3 separate regions of the Homo sapiens genome follow, and all the other regions are linked to region 1. The links are contacts of gene promoters, found by promoter capture Hi-C in blood cells and fetal thymus (Javierre and others, 2016). All regions are on one chromosome and are shown on one strand. Each heading gives the region's core, a stretch centred on a gene start or on the middle of the fragment in contact. The rest is flanking DNA. Distances are from core to core; before and after follow the strand shown.

The links. The method cuts DNA at HindIII sites, captures the fragments that hold promoters and counts their contacts. A CHiCAGO score of 5 or more calls a contact.
Region 2: a contact is called between a fragment that was not itself captured here and the fragment with the promoter of PON2 in region 1, in 1 of 17 cell types (naive B cells). The highest score is 6.3, in naive B cells.
Region 3: a contact is called between a fragment that was not itself captured here and the fragment with the promoter of PON2 in region 1, in 1 of 17 cell types (total B cells). The highest score is 5.2, in total B cells.

The regions. Positions count from the first base shown.
Region 1 is chr7:95,433,390-95,436,386 of GRCh38, reverse strand. It overlaps PON2 (paraoxonase 2), which reads left to right and starts at 1,359. Exons shown (of 9, transcript NM_000305.3): 1 at 1,359-1,509. The coding sequence starts at 1,436. RefSeq lists an enhancer at 1,002-1,572 and a silencer at 1,247-1,676. The HindIII fragment of the contact is 3,363 bases long and covers 394-2,997 here.
Region 2 is chr7:94,426,001-94,429,068 of GRCh38, reverse strand. It overlaps COL1A2 (collagen type I alpha 2 chain), which reads right to left. Exons shown (of 52, transcript NM_000089.4): 45 at 3,018-3,068; 46 at 2,539-2,646; 47 at 2,008-2,061; 48 at 1,774-1,881; 49 at 1,184-1,442; 50 at 592-776. Among named protein-coding and RNA genes, the nearest start is that of COL1A2, 33 kb to the right of the region's middle. The HindIII fragment of the contact is 3,339 bases long and covers 3-3,068 here.
Region 3 is chr7:94,400,521-94,403,467 of GRCh38, reverse strand. It overlaps COL1A2 (collagen type I alpha 2 chain), which reads right to left. Exons shown (of 52, transcript NM_000089.4): 6 at 1,848-1,901. Among named protein-coding and RNA genes, the nearest start is that of COL1A2, 7.1 kb to the right of the region's middle. The HindIII fragment of the contact is 1,298 bases long and covers 921-2,218 here.

The sequences.
Region 1 (2,997 bases), core at 110-2,609:
CGCACAGAGAAAATTTATGCATTTTATTGTAAGCATTTATAAACATTATTCTAAGAAGTTATCCACAGGCTCACCACTGCCAGAAGGGTCCACGACACAAAAAAGGTAATGCCTCATGGGCTTTCAAAGGACAACTTTTTACTTCTCTTTCTACCATCCAGTATAATCCAATATCCTTAGGACTGAAGCAGAGATACACACACACACAGGGAGAGAGGTGTTTGTGCTTTTTTTTTTTTTTTTTTTTTTTGGTGAGAGGCAGGTGGGAAATTGGCATCCACTTTTATTTACTGGTTCTTTATAAAACTGATATTTGTTGAAAATTGTCAAGTGTGACCATTTCTGCCTACATATTGTAGGGTGGCAATTAAATACCGAAAACCATTAGAAGCTTATTTCAGATGTACTCATTTATTGTAATGGTATCAATCTTGATGGGTAAATTTCATTTTACTTTTAAAATTGTATTTTAAATTATTCCTTCATGTTACGGTTGTTAGAGTAAAAACGGAAAAGAAAAAAACTACACTTCTTCCCTTTGAGTTTGGATGAAAAAGACGTGTCTAAGTCCTTAAGTCTGTAGTCTGGAAGTATTAATAGAGGCTGGGCATGGTGGCTCATTCCTGTAATTCTAGCACTTTGGGAGGCTGAGGCAGGAGGATGGCTTGAGTCCAGGAGTTTGAGACCAACCTGGGCAACACAGCAAGACTCGGTCTCCACACACACACACACAGACACACACACAACTTACACACACTTAGCTAGGTGTAACGGTACGTGCCTGCGGTCCCAGCTACTCAGGAGGCTGAGGCTGGAGGGTCCCTTGAGTCCGGGAGGTCCAGACTGCAGTGAGCTATGATTGTGCCAATGTACTCCAGCCTAGGCAACACAGCGAGACCCTGTTAAAAAAAAAAAAAAAAAGTATTACGAGGCACAGGATGTTTATTTATTCGCAACTACGTCCTGTTATAAAAAGTAGTGATTCCAACGTGAAATATTTACACGACGCATCCCGTTACTTTCCCTCCCTTGGCCACCGACCCCCATCCCCAAAAGCTGCTTTCTATGTAAGTTTCTCACTGGAATAGCGAGTGAGAAATGTGTTTGAAGACTAGGGAAACGAGAAAGGTATGCGGGCTGCTAGAGGGTTTCGGGTGGGTTGTTTGAAAAAGGAAGTGAAGGAATTCAAAGTTTCACATCATGAGCCTAATGTAAGGCGTGTCCGGGCCGTCCCGAAGGTATCTGGGGAAATAGGTTTGTGAGGACAAAGACCAGGGCCAGGCCCAGGGCGGAGCCTCCGCGGCCCCGACGCAGGGACTCGGCCTAGGCGGAGGACGGGGCGGAGCGCGGCCGGCACCATCGAGCCGGGAAGATGGCACCGCCCACGGAGCTGCTGGCCAGGCCGGAGCGAGGCAGCGCGCCCGGCTCCCGCGCCATGGGGCGGCTGGTGGCTGTGGGCTTGCTGGGGATCGCGCTGGCGCTCCTGGGCGAGAGGCTTCTGGCACTCAGGTAGGTGGGACTCCCGCGCGCCCCTCCTCGGCGGTCCCCAGGCTCGGGGTGGCCGCGTGGTGCGGGGAGGGCGCAGGCTGGGGGAGGGATTCCTGCGGGACCTGGCCCTGCGGCCGGGGGTGGAGAATTTTTGAATGCTGTCCCTCCCCCAGCTAGTTGAACCCCCATCACCCCGACTCTCCGCTTCTAGTGAAAAAACTAGCAAAGTTTGGAGTGAATCGCGACACTTTCTTGAAAGTTTATAAGCCCTTGCTGCTAACAAAGTTCTCTTCTGCTTAGGCTGACAAGAGAATGCTTTGCAATTACCCAAGGGCCAAACTAGTGGTTTAAATTGAAAACAAAATGACTACTCATGCATTGAAACCTTAACTATGAAGATTTATTTCAGGTCATTGGTGCTGTTTCTCCTTGTTGCCCAAACCAGACCCGTCTTTAATAAAGTTGTTCTCCACCCATTTCTGCATAGTTTGAGAAACTCTTCAGCTGTAGATCAAAGACACTTGAAATATTCAGCTACTGTTCTTACTTCCTATTTATTCACCAGGGAAGCCTGAAGCCAGAATGCCAGACAGCGCAGACACTATTCCATCTCGCATTTTAGTTTTAATGAAAATCTCTGGTAGGTAGACATCATCGTTTATAAATTACCAACTCAACGTTTGTTTTTTGTTTATTTTATTTTTTGTAGAGATGGGGTCTTGCTGTATTGCCCAGGCTGTTCCCTAACTCTTGCACTCAAGCAATCCTCCAGCCTAGGCCTCCCCACAGTGCTGGGATTACAGGTGTGAGCTGTTCTGCCCTGCCTCAACCAAAATTTTATAGGCCTCATGCAAAAGAGTTCCAGAAAGACTGAGCACCTGCTATGTGTAATGTTCTCTCTTAGGCTTCTATAGTAGAGTACGACCCTTATGGAGTTTGATACAGGGGAAGAGAGAATTAAAATACAGTAAATGTATAAATTAGGATGTTCTAAGGACAGACACAAATGAACCGCATAGGCTTAAAGAGGAAAGATTCCATCCCCTGAGGGTGGAGTTCTAGAGGGAGGAAGAGACATTCGACCTGACCTTGAAGGGTGGGTGCAACACATATGAGCATGAAGGGGCCCATGCCAAATGTATAGTGCAGCAGGAGCAAAGGGGCTAAGGTGGGAAGTTGGAAGACTAGCAAATGGGCCAATTTGAAGGGAGCATAAAGTCAGGAGATGAGAATAGTAGGGTGGTGGGAAGGATAGGTTTTGAGGCCATTAAATATAAGTTGAAAAATGGGGCCCCACTTTCATAGGCCCAATAGTGCTTCAAAAGGGAAATATTGGTGGGTTTTGCTTTTCAACAAGAACTTAATATAACTAGTTGTGTTTTATAGAGATAAGCCTGGAAGGGGGGATTGGAGGAGAGCAATGGTTCTCTGTACATTAGAATCTCCTGGAGGGCTGGTGTCTGAGTGGCACCACCAAAGATTCTGATTCAGCTGTTCTGGATCAGAATC
Region 2 (3,068 bases), core at 423-2,922, 1.0 Mb after region 1:
CTTAGGAAAAGGGTACTTTTAAAGAAAACTTAATTCACTTGTCTTTGAAGTATCAGTTACCTAGATGAACATAAGACCTACTAGACTGAGGCAAGGTCATCTAAAAAAGTTATCTGTTTCAATTAATCCTTTTTGCATATGCTTCTTCTTTAGAATAAGAGAATGAGGAGGTAGAAATTCTGACATTTTTCTTTTTCTGTCATTTTGTAATTTATGGAATTCCAGTAGGCATTCAGTAAAGTTGGTGAAAAGGTTTGATTAAAAATTCAGAAAAGCTGCTCACATTCTGAAAATGCATATGTATGAGTGTGGCATATAGCTGGCCAGTGCTCCTTCACACTAAATGACATTAGTCAGTTTTTTCAATGATTACCAATTAAGTCAAATTTGAATAATAACTTTGAATTACATGGATGTGTCCAATCAATCCATCTTCTAATGTGCAATTTAGGACAAAATTGGAACCCAGGAAAGGAACAGGTCTTTTTTTAATAAGCCCATTTTTGTCAGAGATTAAAATGCAGATAATTAACAAACAGTCCTACCAAAATATTATTTAGCAGAAGGAGAGGTGTTTGTGGGATTCCTCACCTGGCTGCCAGCATTGATAGTTTCTCCTAGCCAGACGTGTTTCTTGTCCTTGGAGCTCCTATACCAGTTCTTGGCTGGGATGTTTTCAGGTTGGGCCCGGATACAGGTTTCGCCAGTAGAGAAATCACAGTATACTTTGATAGCATCCATAGTGCATCCTTGGTTAGGGTCAATCCAGTAGTAACCTTTTAAGAAAATAACATTCAGATCATGAAACTTCTCATTGAGCAGAACACAGATTCTAATAATAACTAATGAAAGATACTGACTCTCATAAGTAACATTTTTGATTGTCTACCCCATATTTAAGAGGAAGAGGGTGGCTATTTTTAAGATTAGACAGTTCCTTCCCTCCCCTCCTCCATGAAAAATCAAATCAGGGTACTTATTACTATGAAAAGTGCAAAAATACATTTTAAGGGAAATGAGGTTGGGTGCTGGTTGGGAGAAGATGACGCTCCATTAATTGGGTGTGATTTCACATAATGTAATCTTTACCCAAATGCATTTTCACTCTAAATGTCAATGGAAACTAATTTTGAAAAGCTCAACTTGTGAGAAGGGTCAGTCTGGTCTGGACATCTTGACCTACCACTGCTCCACTCTGGGTGGCTGAGTCTCAAGTCACGGCATGTGCGAGCTGGGTTCTTTCTAGAGCCTTCAGGAGTAAGAAGGGTCTCAATCTGGTTGTTGAGAGACTTCAGAGTAGCATCAACTTCATAGTCCTTGGGTCTGAGAGAAGGTGCTGAGCGAGGCTGGTCAGCCCTGTAGAAGTCTCCATCGTAACCAAAGTCATAACCACCACCGCTTACACCTGGAGGTCCAGGAGGGCCAGGGGGACCAGGGGGGCCCTGCAAAGGTGAAAGTGAGATAGGAGAGGCTTTATATTTTGTTACAGTGAGAGACATCCATGGCAGCAGATTTTCAGTTGAGCTTCACACGGAAGCATGTTCTCATCAGTAAAAAATAATCAAGTTCACATAAATAAATAACGAGCCCCCAGGCACACTTGCAGGGATGGACTTAACAAGCCCATTGCATATAGACAATTTCCAGATATTTTAGAGGATATATTGAAATGGGGCTAACTTTAATGGGTTGTCAAAGTTGTCTTGGTTTAGTCTGAAGAAAACATTCCTTAGGTCCGTGATCTTCTTTATTATTTCCCCAAATCATACTTACAGCAGGGCCTTGGTGACCCTGAGGGCCTCGAATGCCAGCAGGTCCAACTGTACCAGGATGTCCAGTGCGACCATCTTTTCCAGCAGGGCCAGAAGGACCAGCAGGGCCCTAAGGAAGACAGACACCAGGTACATGTGAGCTGGTGAATCCCACCAAGGGAGCAGCAGCCTGGGGCTCACTGCTCGCTTTAGCCTCTATTTCAGAGATGAACTGTCTTCTCTTGAGTCCACCTACCCTAGGACCAGCAGGACCCACGGAGCCAGGAGCACCTTGATCACCATGGTGACCCTTTAAAGACAGAAGAGGAAAATCACACTTTCAGAGCACATGTCAAGAGACATATTTTTTTTTTTTTTCCAAATTGAATGGGAAACTTTAGTTAAATGGACTCCGGATTGAGAAAATTGAAAATGTAAAGTGGGGCTCTTTTCTCCCATTATGTCTATTATATTCAATTTTTTTTTCACAACCTATTTCAGCAGTGCAATATTAGTCATTCCTCTAATTATGTTTATTTTAAGTGGGGTTGAAGGACATTGTTACCAGGAGATTTTATTGTATGTCTATTTCTATCTCCCTTAATCCTCACCTTTCATGTTGGTATGAAATAGCATTACCTCCAAGAGTGAGATGGAGTTAGCCAGAGAATGGGAAATGGATATTATATAGGCTATACTGGAACAATAGCAGTGAAAATATGAAAATCCTTCTGAGCTGAAGGCCTTCAGGATCAGTTTATGTGCGAGATGGCTACAGTTTACTTACAGCGATACCAGGCAGACCTTGCAATCCATTGTGTCCCTTTAAGCCAGGAAGACCTCTGGGCCCCTTTTCACCGGGCTCTCCCTTATCGCCACGAATGCCTTGTGGGCCCTATAAAGAAACAGAAGGATGGATAAGACTTACCGTTTTAAAAAAATGGCACTCACTTCACCACAAATACTGCTTAATTCGTTTACAAAGGTAACTCAGGACATGTAATGGTTTAGCTAGGCTCTCACCTCTGCTGGTAATCTGCTTTAGTTGTGCTATCTGTAAAGTGGCTAGATCCTTGTAATTGTTTAATACAAACAAGCATAAGAGATTTAAAATAGCTCAAGTTATTTGTATCAATTCTCAGCATGGACTGAAATTTTTAAAAAATATTAAGTCTAGCTGATATATTGTTTATTTTCTTAACAGATGTTTTGGACTGATTCTCTCTAAATGTTAGTGTTGCAAAGAAATCTTCAGCATGTACATACACTAGGACCTCTTGGGCCAACAGCACCAGCAGGACCAACAGGACCAGAAGG
Region 3 (2,947 bases), core at 320-2,819, 1.0 Mb after region 1:
AACAATTTCATTTACATAAAATGTAGTGTATTTCATGGAGGCTGTGATTACTCATTAATTCAGAGAAGAACCCTGTGGGGTTTTATAGTTATTGATTTTCCAACATGGAAATTATTTTAATACTTTATTGCTGCCTATCTTCCCTATTTGTGAAACAGATATCTGTTGATTACATATGTCTGTGCATGTGTGTGGATGTGCAAGCTTAAATTATATTTCACTGATATTTCAAAGTAAAATACTCTGCTTTATGCCAAGACAGATGTTCCGAAAACAGGGGTATCTGAAATCCATATTAATTTTCCCAGCTTAGTGGGCTTTTTAAAAATGACATTTAGTAGCTCTTTACTTTCCGCCCCCTTGCTTCTTCTTGAGATGTAGGTACTGCTTTAAAACTGACTAATGTCCAGCATTAGCTGAAACAGCTAATTTCAAAAATCCAATATAAACAAAGCCAAAAGAAACACTCTACTTTTTCATTTCAGATATGAACATTTTAAACTACCAGAAAAAATTAGGGAATTAGAAGTCGTCAATTAAAGGTACATTATTTCTCAAGTGGGAGTTTTAATTTACAGAAAATATTATCTCACCCTTAGAGTATATTAGCTTACTGTGGGCCATTAGCTCCAGCAGAACATCTTCTTTTGAAGATAGAGCACTAAGTGCACTGCCCAGGTAAAATTTACATTTTAAAGACCTTGTTGACTTTGGGCAGATAAATACCTTTGTTTTGAAACAATTAATTAAAATCACTAAATTGCGTGTGTGTGTATACATTAAATTCTGTAGTGCTTAATCAACCTAACACTTTGACTTCTGGCAGTTTTCCCCTCTATTTCATATATGCTAGTATACATTTTGCATGCTCGTATTAGCATTTTTCCCTTCAAACTTCTCTCTAATGCTTGTTAGAAGCTTCATTTGTTAATAGTCATCATCATCATCATCATCATATAGGGAATGTTTCTAAGCGGTGCTCCACTGATAGGGTATGGTGCTGAATATTTGTACTGAGTGACATAAATGCTAGATTTTTACTCATACTCTCTTCTATATAGATTTACAATCAATAGACTAAAAAAGGATTTTTTTGGTCAAAATTCAGAAAAAGAAACATTTCCTATATTGTTAACTCCTTGAGGAAGGATCAGAATCTGTCATATTCCTTGTAATTTCCCCAGTTCCTAATACAGTTTAGGGCCCATTGAAGGCATCTGATTAATATCTGTTGACTAAATGAGTGGTTTATTCAAGGACTAGGTACATAAACCATGATGTAAGCAAATATTAGACATCTTGCCTGGCATCTAGTTCTAGTTATGTCATTAGTTACCTGGATGACTTTGAGAAAAGGGCTTAAACTCTCCCATTTTAAAATGAGTTAGCTGGACTAGATAGAACTTGTTGATCCTTTCCAACAAGTTCAGAGAACTTAATAAATAGTTCTATGCCTCTAAGTGTTGCTTAAAATTCTAAGCAATGTTAAAGAATATTAAAAAATTAATCAGAGTGATTACTGTTTTAAATTAAATTGATTTGCCCAAGTTATGGTTACTATGTCCAAAGATTATTTCTTGGACATAAGTATATGATCTATCTTAATGAGGATCATATAATCAAAAAGATCATATAATCATAAAAGATCAATTAATCTTTCTTTTGTAAAGAAAAGTGAACTCCTTAACTTATGTTTTCATAAATTTGAAAACAAAAAGAGTTGTTTTTATATAATCTAAGTATTGAGTGTTAACTTAGGTAGCTAAATAAATGGCGTGGTAAAATGTGACATAAAATGAATGATTTATTTAGCAATTTTTTTGGCTAAGATAAACAGATAAGCATACCATTGGTCCAGGGCCAAGTCCAACTCCTTTTCCATCATACTGAGCAGCAAAGTTCTAGAGAAGTAAAAAAAAAAAATTATATATATATATAAAATATTTTTAGTTACTAGTCATGTAGTTCATTTTCTCATTCTACTTGTAAATATTTTTCTGTTGTTATTTAAAAGAGGGCAATGTTTTTGATATAATTATTAGTTTAAAATTCTATATTGAACTAAATTCCTAAAAAGTTATGAGAGCTGTACGTCAAAAACTTGGCCGACACCTCTTTGAAATGGAGAACTTCCCTACTTTACTTTTTGAGCCCTTCCTCTGCCTTAACTCGGTGTCTCCACTCCCACCTTTTACCTCTACTCTGAGGAAGGGAAGCTTTCTAAACTTTTAATGTTACTAAGGGCTCCTGACAAATTAGACAGAGCTCAAGAGGACATCTTCACATTTTCACCTGTTGCCCTTCCCCACCGGAGCTACACAAAATGACTAAGAGATCTTTTTCTTGCTGGAGTTTCAGGAAGGGCATAAAGAGTTTTCAAGTTTAGAGGAAAATTAAATTAAAATACCCCTTGGAAGATAAAACTTCTAAAAACTAGTTCACAGTAATAACTTTACTGTTAAAGATCTCTCTTATAGTGGTAGCTCTATTAAAGAAGCTGCTTTTTAATGCAATTCATAGATAAGCAATCATAATAAGATCTTTGGGGGAGAAAGGTCTTATTTTACTGACATACAGTTGGGTATTAGAATCAGGCTTCTGATTCATAGTGCTAACCAATTAAGCAAATATGTTTTCCTTCCTGCAGTGAGGTCATTTGGCACTCATACCATTGTTAAAGACATGAAGCTAAAAGAAGATATTAATGAAAAAGGGAAATGTACTTTTCTCAAATTAGTTTCAAGCAAATTAAACCTAAAACCGCTTTGAATGTTGGTTCAGCAGACTTCAAGTCAAGGAGAATAAAAAGCGTAGGATGTTTGTAAAATTGCTTAAGATCAGGGATTTCACTTACACAGTTCAATCTAATCAAAATCCTTAATAATGCAACACCTCTTATTTGTGCCTTACTAATAAAAGATATTAAATCTCCAAATTAAATAATGGT